2 separate regions of the Homo sapiens genome follow, and region 1 is linked to region 2. Evidence: promoter capture Hi-C in 16 types of primary human blood cells and fetal thymus (Javierre and others, 2016). All regions are on one chromosome and are shown on one strand. The core of a region is centred on a gene start or on the middle of the fragment in contact, and the rest is flanking DNA. Distances in the headings are between cores, read along the strand shown. Region 1 holds the start of LIMK1 (LIM domain kinase 1). Region 2 holds the start of HIP1 (huntingtin interacting protein 1).

Evidence for each region. The method cuts DNA at HindIII sites, captures the fragments that hold promoters and counts their contacts. A CHiCAGO score of 5 or more calls a contact.
Region 1: a contact is called between the fragment with the promoter of LIMK1 here and the fragment with the promoter of HIP1 in region 2, in 1 of 17 cell types (neutrophils). The highest score is 9.1, in neutrophils.

What each region holds. Positions count from the first base shown.
Region 1 is chr7:74,081,731-74,086,081 of GRCh38, reverse strand. LIMK1 (LIM domain kinase 1) reads right to left here and starts at 2,278. Exons shown (of 16, transcript NM_002314.4): 1 at 2,037-2,278; 2 at 238-334. The coding sequence starts at 2,091. RefSeq lists enhancers at 1-353, 1,465-1,734, 2,221-2,899, 2,795-2,904, 2,900-3,578 and 1 more and silencers at 1,925-1,974, 2,085-2,134, 2,255-2,524. The HindIII fragment of the contact is 9,779 bases long and covers 548-4,351 here.
Region 2 is chr7:75,736,236-75,740,340 of GRCh38, reverse strand. HIP1 (huntingtin interacting protein 1) reads left to right here and starts at 1,400. Exons shown (of 31, transcript NM_005338.7): 1 at 1,400-1,540. The coding sequence starts at 1,421. RefSeq lists a silencer at 623-1,612. The HindIII fragment of the contact is 9,380 bases long and covers 1-3,010 here.

The DNA of each region.
Region 1 (4,351 bases), core at 1,029-3,528, 1.7 Mb after region 2:
AGAGCGAGACTCCGTCTCAAAAAGAAAAAAAAATAGATAAATAAAATGACAACAGGAAGGCCTGTAGGGATTTTCTAGTCAAAACACCTCATGTCATAAATGGTAAATTAAGGCCACGAAGTCACAATAGGGGACGGCACCAGGAGGCATATCCCGGCCTCCCCCATTCCTTGACCAGCCTGTCCTCTCTGGCAGGCCTTGTTTAGGGCAACACAGGCCCTGGGCACCCCACCCTACCTGAAGCAGTCTGCGTGCCAGTCCGCGTTCAGGGCCTGGAGGTACTGGCCATCATAGATCCTCTGGCCGCAGCTTGCACACACGGGCAACTCGCTTCCTGCAGGGTGGGAAGGGAGTTGGGAAGCATTCTCAGGAAGTGTGATCTGGTGCAGGCCCAGCTTGCCCTGCCCACCCCACATATACCTACACCTGCACCAATCCTCGCACACTGCACATGTGCAGCGCCCAGGCAGGGCAGTCGCTGTGCCAAATAGGAGAAGAAAGGGCGCTGGCCTGAGTCTTGCTGAGATACTGACTAGGTTGCCAAGCTTCTCTGGCCCTGTTTCCCTATGTATCAGCTTAGGAGGAGGATCAGGTCCATCCTCCCGCTATAGCATTGGATCTGGCAAGGTAAATGAGGAGAAAGGAAGCAGTGGCTTTAGGGATAAGGCAGTGGGTGACATTCCTATCACAGCCTCCTTTCTTCCCTCTCCTGCCCAGGAAGAAGTACTAAGAGGGCCCTTCAAAGGCAGGGACTGGACAGGGCTGGATTAGTGCATCCTGGGCTGAAGCCAGCTGGGAGGTCAAGGGCAGGAAGCCTGGAGGTGCCGGCCCTAACAGATCCTTGGCAATGAATGCCCTGGCTTGGCAAGGGGAGGGGGCTGCAGACCTGGGTACTCCCAGACACCTGTCCCAGGGAGGCCTGGCACCTCCTCTAGCCAGCCACAGGCATGCTTAGTCATCCTTGGGGCCTGGCACCCTTGGAGCTGGTGGGCCCTGGAAAATGCCCCAGACCTGCCCCTCTCCACTGTACAGAAGGGGAGACTGAGCCCCAGAGATGGCATGGCTTGCCCAGTCACATAGCTAGGTCCCAAGGCCACAACAGCCTGACCCTCTGTGAAGACGCAGGTACCTTAGGTAGGCAGGGGCTACAGGAAGGTGGGCCCCTACCCCAATCAGGTTTTCATGGGCCTGGGAAGAGTTGGTGGCAGGGGGAGGTGTGGAGTCAGGCCCTGCCTTGGGGCCAGGTGGATCTAAGTGACAGGTCAGCGAAGGAGATCCAAGGAGGGGCCCCCAGACCCTGTCCTAGGCTGGGGGAGTCCTTGAACCCTAACTGCAGTGCAGTACTGCGCCTTGGGCCCCAGTGAGGGAGAAGGGGCTAAAGAGGAGGTTAGGATGAGTCATGCTCCCAGCCAAGACTGAGGGCAGGCACCGGGTTTGGGGCACGGACAGGGAGAGTGGATGAGGCTCCCGCAGTACACGGCCTCCGGCTTCCTGGACGCCTATCTCCGCTCTACCCATCTGGCCCCCAATCACCGACACCGGGGGGGCAACTACCCAGTTTCCAAATGTACAGAAGGGGAAACTGAGGACCAGGAAGTCAGCGCCTGGCTCAAGGTCACAGAGCCGGGCAGGCGCCCGGCGGCCACTGGGACCCGGGGCTGCGGCTTCCCCAGCCGCTCTTTCTTCCGAGACTGGATAAAGGGTGGCCCCAGGGCGAGGCCCGGGTGGTGGACAGAGCACGCGGATGGAGGCCGACGCGGGGTGGGCAGTGTCTGGGAGTCCTTCGCGGGGGGACGTGGGAGGAGGAAAAAGGGTCCAGGGGCCCCCAGACCCGCAGGAGGGCAGCTCGCCGGGGGCCGGGGAGGGGGATCCCGGGCGGGAGGGGGACAGGGAGGGGCCTGCGGGCTTCGTAAGGACGAGCTCATCCCGGAGGAGGCAGGGGCGCGGCCTCCTGGCAGACCCGGCCCCCTCCCGTGCCCCACGCTGCCCCGGGCACCCCCTCCAGGCCCTCGCCCCACACCCCGCGGCCCGCGCACCTTCCTCTCCCATACGTTCTTCCCTCCAGGTGCAACAAAGTAGCGTCAACCTCATGCACTCGACGGGGGGCGGGGCCCGGCGGGGCTGGGGCTGGGGGCGGCCGGGCCCGCGAGCTCGCCCACCGCCGCCGGCCCGGGGAGGCGGGGGCGGAGGGCGCGGGCCGGGCCGGGCCGGGCCGGGGGCGCCTCTCGGACACCGGCGGGGAAACCGGCTCGGCGCCGCGGCGGCTTGGGGAGCGAGCGGAGGGGCGGACCGAGGCGGGGCCTGTGAGCTGCGGCACGGGGGCGGGGCGCGGGCGGCCGGCGGCGGGAACGGCCCTGCGCGGCCCCGCCCCCACCAGAAAACCCCGCCCCCACGCCCAAGGCCACGCCTCTAGAGGCCACGCCCCGCTGCGGCCCGGCCTGGGGGCGCCGCGAGCTGGCGCGGCGCGCCCCGCCCCTCCCCGCCCCTTCCGCCCTTCATTCATTCTTCTTTCTCCCAGCGACAGGCCTCGGCTGGGAGCTGCGAGGCCCAGCTGTCTCGGAGGGCCGCTAGCTCTGCTGGGGCAGGCCAGGAGGATGTAGGAGCCTAGAGAAGGGGCCTCCGCTTCCCTGCGCGAGGCCCCCACAGACCCAAACCAGCTGCAGCCGGGAACTCGGATCAGAGCTGGAGAGGCCCTGTGGACCCCCAGGACACTGGTGGTCGCCTTGGGGAGGGGAGGGAGGCGGGCCGGGTTTTGTCCCTCTCTCTGAGGCCTGCATTGAGGCCAGGCTGGGCCCGGGGAAGGTGACGGTCCGCGTCTCAGGCCTCGCGAATGAGCAGCACCAGAGAAAGGAGCGAGCCCCTGCCAGGCGGTGACAGGTGTACTCTTCTCAGTGCCGATTACCTGGAGCTGGGGCTGCCCTGCCCAGGGTCCTGGAGGGAGCACGGGTTTGGGCTGAGTCAAGCGTCCAAAGGAATTGGGTGGTCCAGTCCAGCACTGATGGTGGAACGCCCTGCCTAGATGTGGACAATTCTAGAATGCTGGACATGGGCAGGAAGCAACCCTGTCCCCCCTAGGTCTACCTTCCACGTCATCCCTCTGCCCAGGAAGCAGTGACCGGAGTGGAGCCACGTGCCCACGTGAACCCAGTGAACAAGAGGCAGCGCTAGCCCAGCTCCAACTCTAGTCATCATGTTTGTGGGGAGAGGTCTAGGCACGTCTGCAAAGTGGGGGGCACTCACCCCTGGGTGCAAAACAATTACGTGGGGTGGGAAGAAAATACTAGATTTTTTTTTTCTTTTTTTAGATTCGGTCTCGCTCTGTTGCCTAGGCTGGAGTGCAGTGGCGGGATCTCGGCTCACCGCAGTCTCCACCTCCCAGGTTCAAGCAATTCTCCCACCTTAGCCTCCCGAGTAGCTGATATTACAGGCGTGCACCACCATGACCGACTAATTTTTGTATTTTTAGTAGAGATGAGGTTTCACCATGTTGACCAGGCTGGTCCTGAACTCCTGACCTCAGGTGATCCACCCTCCTCGGCTTCCCAAAGTGCTGGGATTACAGGTGTGAGCCACCACGCCTGGCCAGAATTTTTAATTTCTCATGAGAAAGAAGGCTGGGCACAGTGGCTCACACCTATAATCCCAGCACTTTGGGAGGCCAAGGTGGGAGCATCACGTGGGGCCAGGAATTGGAGATCAGCTTAAGCAATGAAGTGAAACCCTGTCTCTTCTAACTTTTTTTTTTTTTGAAATGGAGTTTCACTCTTGTTGCCCAGGCTGGAGTGCAATGGTGCGATCTCAGCTCACAGCAACCTCCACCTCCCGGGTTCAAGCCATTCTCCTGCCTCAGCCTCTGGAATAGCTGGGATTATAGGCATGCACCACCATACCTGGCTAATTTTGTATTTTTAATAGAGACGGGGTTTCTCCATGTTGGTCAGGCTGGTCTCGAATTCTGGACCTCAGGTGATCCACCCACCTTGGCCTCCCAAAGTGCTGGGATTACAGGCGTGAGCCACCGCGCCCAGACTTTTTTTTTTTTTTTTAATTAGCCAGGCATGGTGGCTCATGCCTGTAGTTAGTTACTTGGGAGGCTGAGGTGGGAGGATACTTGACCTCAGGAGGTTGAGGCTGCAGTGAGCTATGATTGCACCATTGCACTCTAGCCTGGGTGACAGAGACCCTGTCAAAAAAGATAGGGAGGGAAAAAAAGGGGAAGGAAAGAGAGGGGAATGAGAGCCTTGTAACTTGGCTGTAGGGCATATACCAGGCAGGACCCTGGCTGGAAACAGAAAGTGCCACTTAGTGGGGCTAACTGGGGAGAGTTTGATAAAGGGGATGTTTGCAATGC
Region 2 (4,105 bases), core at 151-2,650:
GTGCCATTCATTACTCCGAGTTTCAAATAACTTTTAAAAAATACATCTATGCCGGGTGCTGTAGCTCATGTCTGTAATCACAGTACTTTGGGAGGCCAAGGTGGGAGGCTTGCTTGAGGCCACGAGTTCGAGACCAGTCTGGGCAACATAGAAAGACTCCATCTCTGCAAAAAAGATAGCCAGGCTTGGTGGCGTGCATCTGTAGTCCCAGCTACTCGAGAGGCCGAGGCAGGAAAATCGCTAGGACCCAGGAGCTCAAGGTCCCAGTGTGTTACGATCTGCACTCCAGCCTGGGCGACAGAGGGAGACTGACTCCAAATGAAACCAAAAAAAAAAAAAAAAACAAACAAAAACAAAAACAAAAACACACCTAAATTGGAGTTTAACGGAAAACTTTTAACTTTCTCCAGCACTCCTGCTAAGCATCACACTTCTCTCTGCTTGCTGGTACCCTGGCTGACGTCTGAGCAGGATGGGACGCGCGGCTCAGAGCCTAAGATAAACCGAAAGTGTCTACAGGGCTTTCTACCAACAAATAAGCTCTGACGGGTTCCTTTGATGAGGTTTGGGAGGCAGGTCCCGGGAGGTGCCCGCGGACTCAGCCCCGAACTCCGGGACCTGGGCTCTGCGATCCTTGCAGAGGGCATGGGCAGGGGCAGAATGGAGAAGTGCAGGACGGGGAAGCCTGGGAGCTGGGTGGGGGCGGCCACCCATTGAGCCGGATCCGGCCAGGCGCCCACGCTGCGCCCCGCCCGCGGGGCTGCGCTTTCCCGGGCTGCGGCCGCAGGGCTGGTCAGTCCGGCGCTCCCGGGTCCCAGGCCCGGAAGGAGCTAACGGGCTATTCGCAGGCGGGCTGGGATTCCCCCGGGGGAGGCCCCACTGCCCGGCCCGCGTCATCCCCGCCCATCTCCACGGGCCGTCGCGGGATAGCCCCCTGCAGGAGCGGGCAGGGTAGTGGGCGGCGCTTGGCGGAGGGCAGCACGCTCGGGGCGCGCGGGGACTGCGGCCGAGGGGAGGAGAGGGCGGTGCGCGGGCGGGGGCGGGGCGAGCGAGGGCATATCAGGGCAGCCCGCCCAGGCCACGCCCCATCCAGGCCTCGCCCCGTCCGCACCCCGCCCCGGCCCTGCCTAGAACGGCGGGACCACGGTGACTGACAGGACTCCAGACCAGTCACCACGCGCCTCGAGGCCCCGAGAGGCTAGTCGGGGCCGAGCCAGCGGAGGGGCTCCTGAAGGGGCGGGGGCGGGCGGGGAAGCCGTTCGGCGAGGGGCGGGGTCTCTGGAAGACTGGCAGAACTCACAGCCAATGGCAGGCGGGAGCCGTCCCGTTAGCGCCGGATCCCCGCGGGTAGGGCGGGGCGGGCGGCGCCGTGGGGATCCCGGGGCAGCCGAGGGCCCCTGACTCGGCTCCTCGCGGCGACATGGATCGGATGGCCAGCTCCATGAAGCAGGTGCCCAACCCACTGCCCAAGGTGCTGAGCCGGCGCGGGGTCGGCGCTGGGCTGGAGGCGGCGGAGCGCGAGAGCTTCGAGCGGACTCAGGTGAGGACGGGGGACCCCGGGGCATCCCTGGGGCACCCTGAGGGACGCGGTGTCCGGGAGGGGCTTTGAAGGGAGTAGGAGTCTTGCAGGCCCCAGTTGAAGACGGGGCGAGGGTGTAGTGAGCGGGGGCATTGACGTGCAGATCTGGGCGATCCCAGGAAGGTCGGGGACCCCAGGGTACCCCAGCTGGCCTGGGGAGAAGGGCAGAGGCGGGCTCGGAGGAGATGGCAGGATGCGTGGCCAAGAGGAGCCTGATCGGCTGGGTACCGGGCAGGAGTCCCAAGATGAGGTGAGAGGGGAAGGAACTGAAAAGGGGCGGAATGGAAGGGTTGCCCCTAAACAAGGGAAGCGCACGGGAGCCACTTGGAGGCTCAAGTGTGGGGGCGGAGAGTGGGGGCGCCGGGCTGGGAATGTGAAGGGTGAGGGGACCTCTCTTCCCCTCCGATCACTTCTTGGTTGCATTGACATCCCTTCCCACCCCCCACCCCTTAGCATCCCCCTTTCTCGATGCCTCTTGCTTGGCTCTGGCCAGCCCCAGCTGTCAGCTCTGAGGCCGGGCGGAAGGGGTCGGAGCAGGGAAAAGGAATGTAGGAAATGCAAAGTGTGGCCACTTTGTGGGAAAATTACTTTGGGGGCTAAAGTGGAGACCATGGTGCCCCTGAGCCCTGACTTGGGGTCTTGGTTTTATCCCCCAAGATGTGCCTGACAGCTAATAGGCAGACTGCCCTATTTGTCCTGCCTGGCCAGGGCTTGGGGCCAAAATTCCTCAGTGTCATCAACAAAAAGCCACAATCCATTTTTTTCTCCGAGTTTTTAATGCCTGGTGTATTGATTGGGCTGAATTAAGCTGACATGTTGATGGTGTTCATCAATTCATTTGTATGTAAAATCCATTTCAAAGAGTACAACGCTTCTTTTAATCCCAGTGCCAATGCTGGAGGGGCAGATTTCTTCTACACTCTTGTGCTCAGAGTGGAACCTTTGAAGATCCATTTGGGTCCCCCTCTCCAGAGGCTGGTCCCCTGATGTGTTATGCGAGGAATACTTCCCCCAAACACAGTTGGAGGGAAAGGGCTTTGGGATTTTAGTTAGAAAAGACAGTGAGAATCTGACTGAAGGTTCTGTATATGGAATCTTTCAAAGAATAGAGCTTTTGGCCGGGCGCGGTACCTCACACCTGTAATCCCAGCACTTTGGGAGGCCGAGGCGGGTGGATCACCTGACGTCAGGAGTTTGAGACCAGCCTGGCCAACATGGTGAAACCCTGTCTCTACTAAAAATACAAAAAATTAGCTGGGCGTGGTTGCAGACGCTTGTAATCCCAGCTACTTGGGAGGCTGAGGCCAGCAGAATTGCTTGAATCTGGGAGGTGAAGGTTGCAGTGAGCCGAGATGGCGCCACTGCACTCCAGCCTGGGCAACAAGAGCGAAACTCCGTCTCAAAATAATAATAATAAAAAAGAATAAAGCTTTTCACCCCCAGAGGACTTCATCCCCTCTTCTTATTCTGAAAACCTTTGGCCCCCCACCTGGGCAACATAGTGCGACCCTGTCTCTACAAAAAATAAAAAAATTAGGCTGGGTGCATTAGCTCACACCTGTAATCCCCGTACTTTGGGAGGCCAAGGTGGGAGGATCACTTGATCCCAGGAGTTCGATACCTGCCTAGACAACACACTGAGATCCCGCCTCTATTTTGAAAAAATTTTAAAATTATCCTCGTGTGGTGGCATACACCTATAGTCCCAGCTGTTTGAGAGGCTGAGGCATGAGGGTCACTTGAGCCAGGAGGCTGAGGCTGCAGTGGGCTATGATCGTGCCACTGCACTCCAGCCTGGGTGACAGAGTGAGACTCTATCTCTACAAAAAAGTGAAAAAAAGAAAGAAAACCGCGCGCAGGTGTGTCTGGATAGTGTGAAGCAGTGGGACCCTGTCTCTACAAAAAAAAAAAAGAAAAAGAAAAAAAGAAAGTGCCTCCATGCAGGTGTGTCTGGATGGTGTGAAGCAGGGAGTCTTCTCTACCTGGTTATCCTACCCCAGGAGGGAAGTGGGAAATGGTCATTTCACTTCTGCCTCCCAGGATCCAGCTAGGTTTGAGGCTTGTTCTCTGGTTTCATGGACCCGACCCCTGAAAAGAAGGAAGTTTTCCATTGGTCTTGGATGTTAGTGCCTCTGCTAGCTGCCTAGTTACATGAGGCTTCTTGCTCCATGAAACAGTGTGTATATTCCTTTTATTTTTATATTTTCATAGAGATGGGGGTCTCACTGTGTTGCCCGGACTGGTCTCAAACTCCTGGCGTCAAGTGATTCTTCTGCTTCTGCCTCCCAAAGTGCTGGGACTACAGGCATGAGCCATGGCACCCAGCCCTATTTTTTTTTTTAATAAATGAAATAAGAAAATAAATAGATATTATTTTTTAACAACCCGTTCCTTCTAGAGTCTCAAATAAGTAAAAACTAGAGCAATAGAGAAATATGCGTAAGACTTTGACCCATAATAGTGATAGAAATTAGGTTTGTGAAAGTTTCCACCCGTGAGTGGTATGTTTCCCTGCTATCCAGGGAC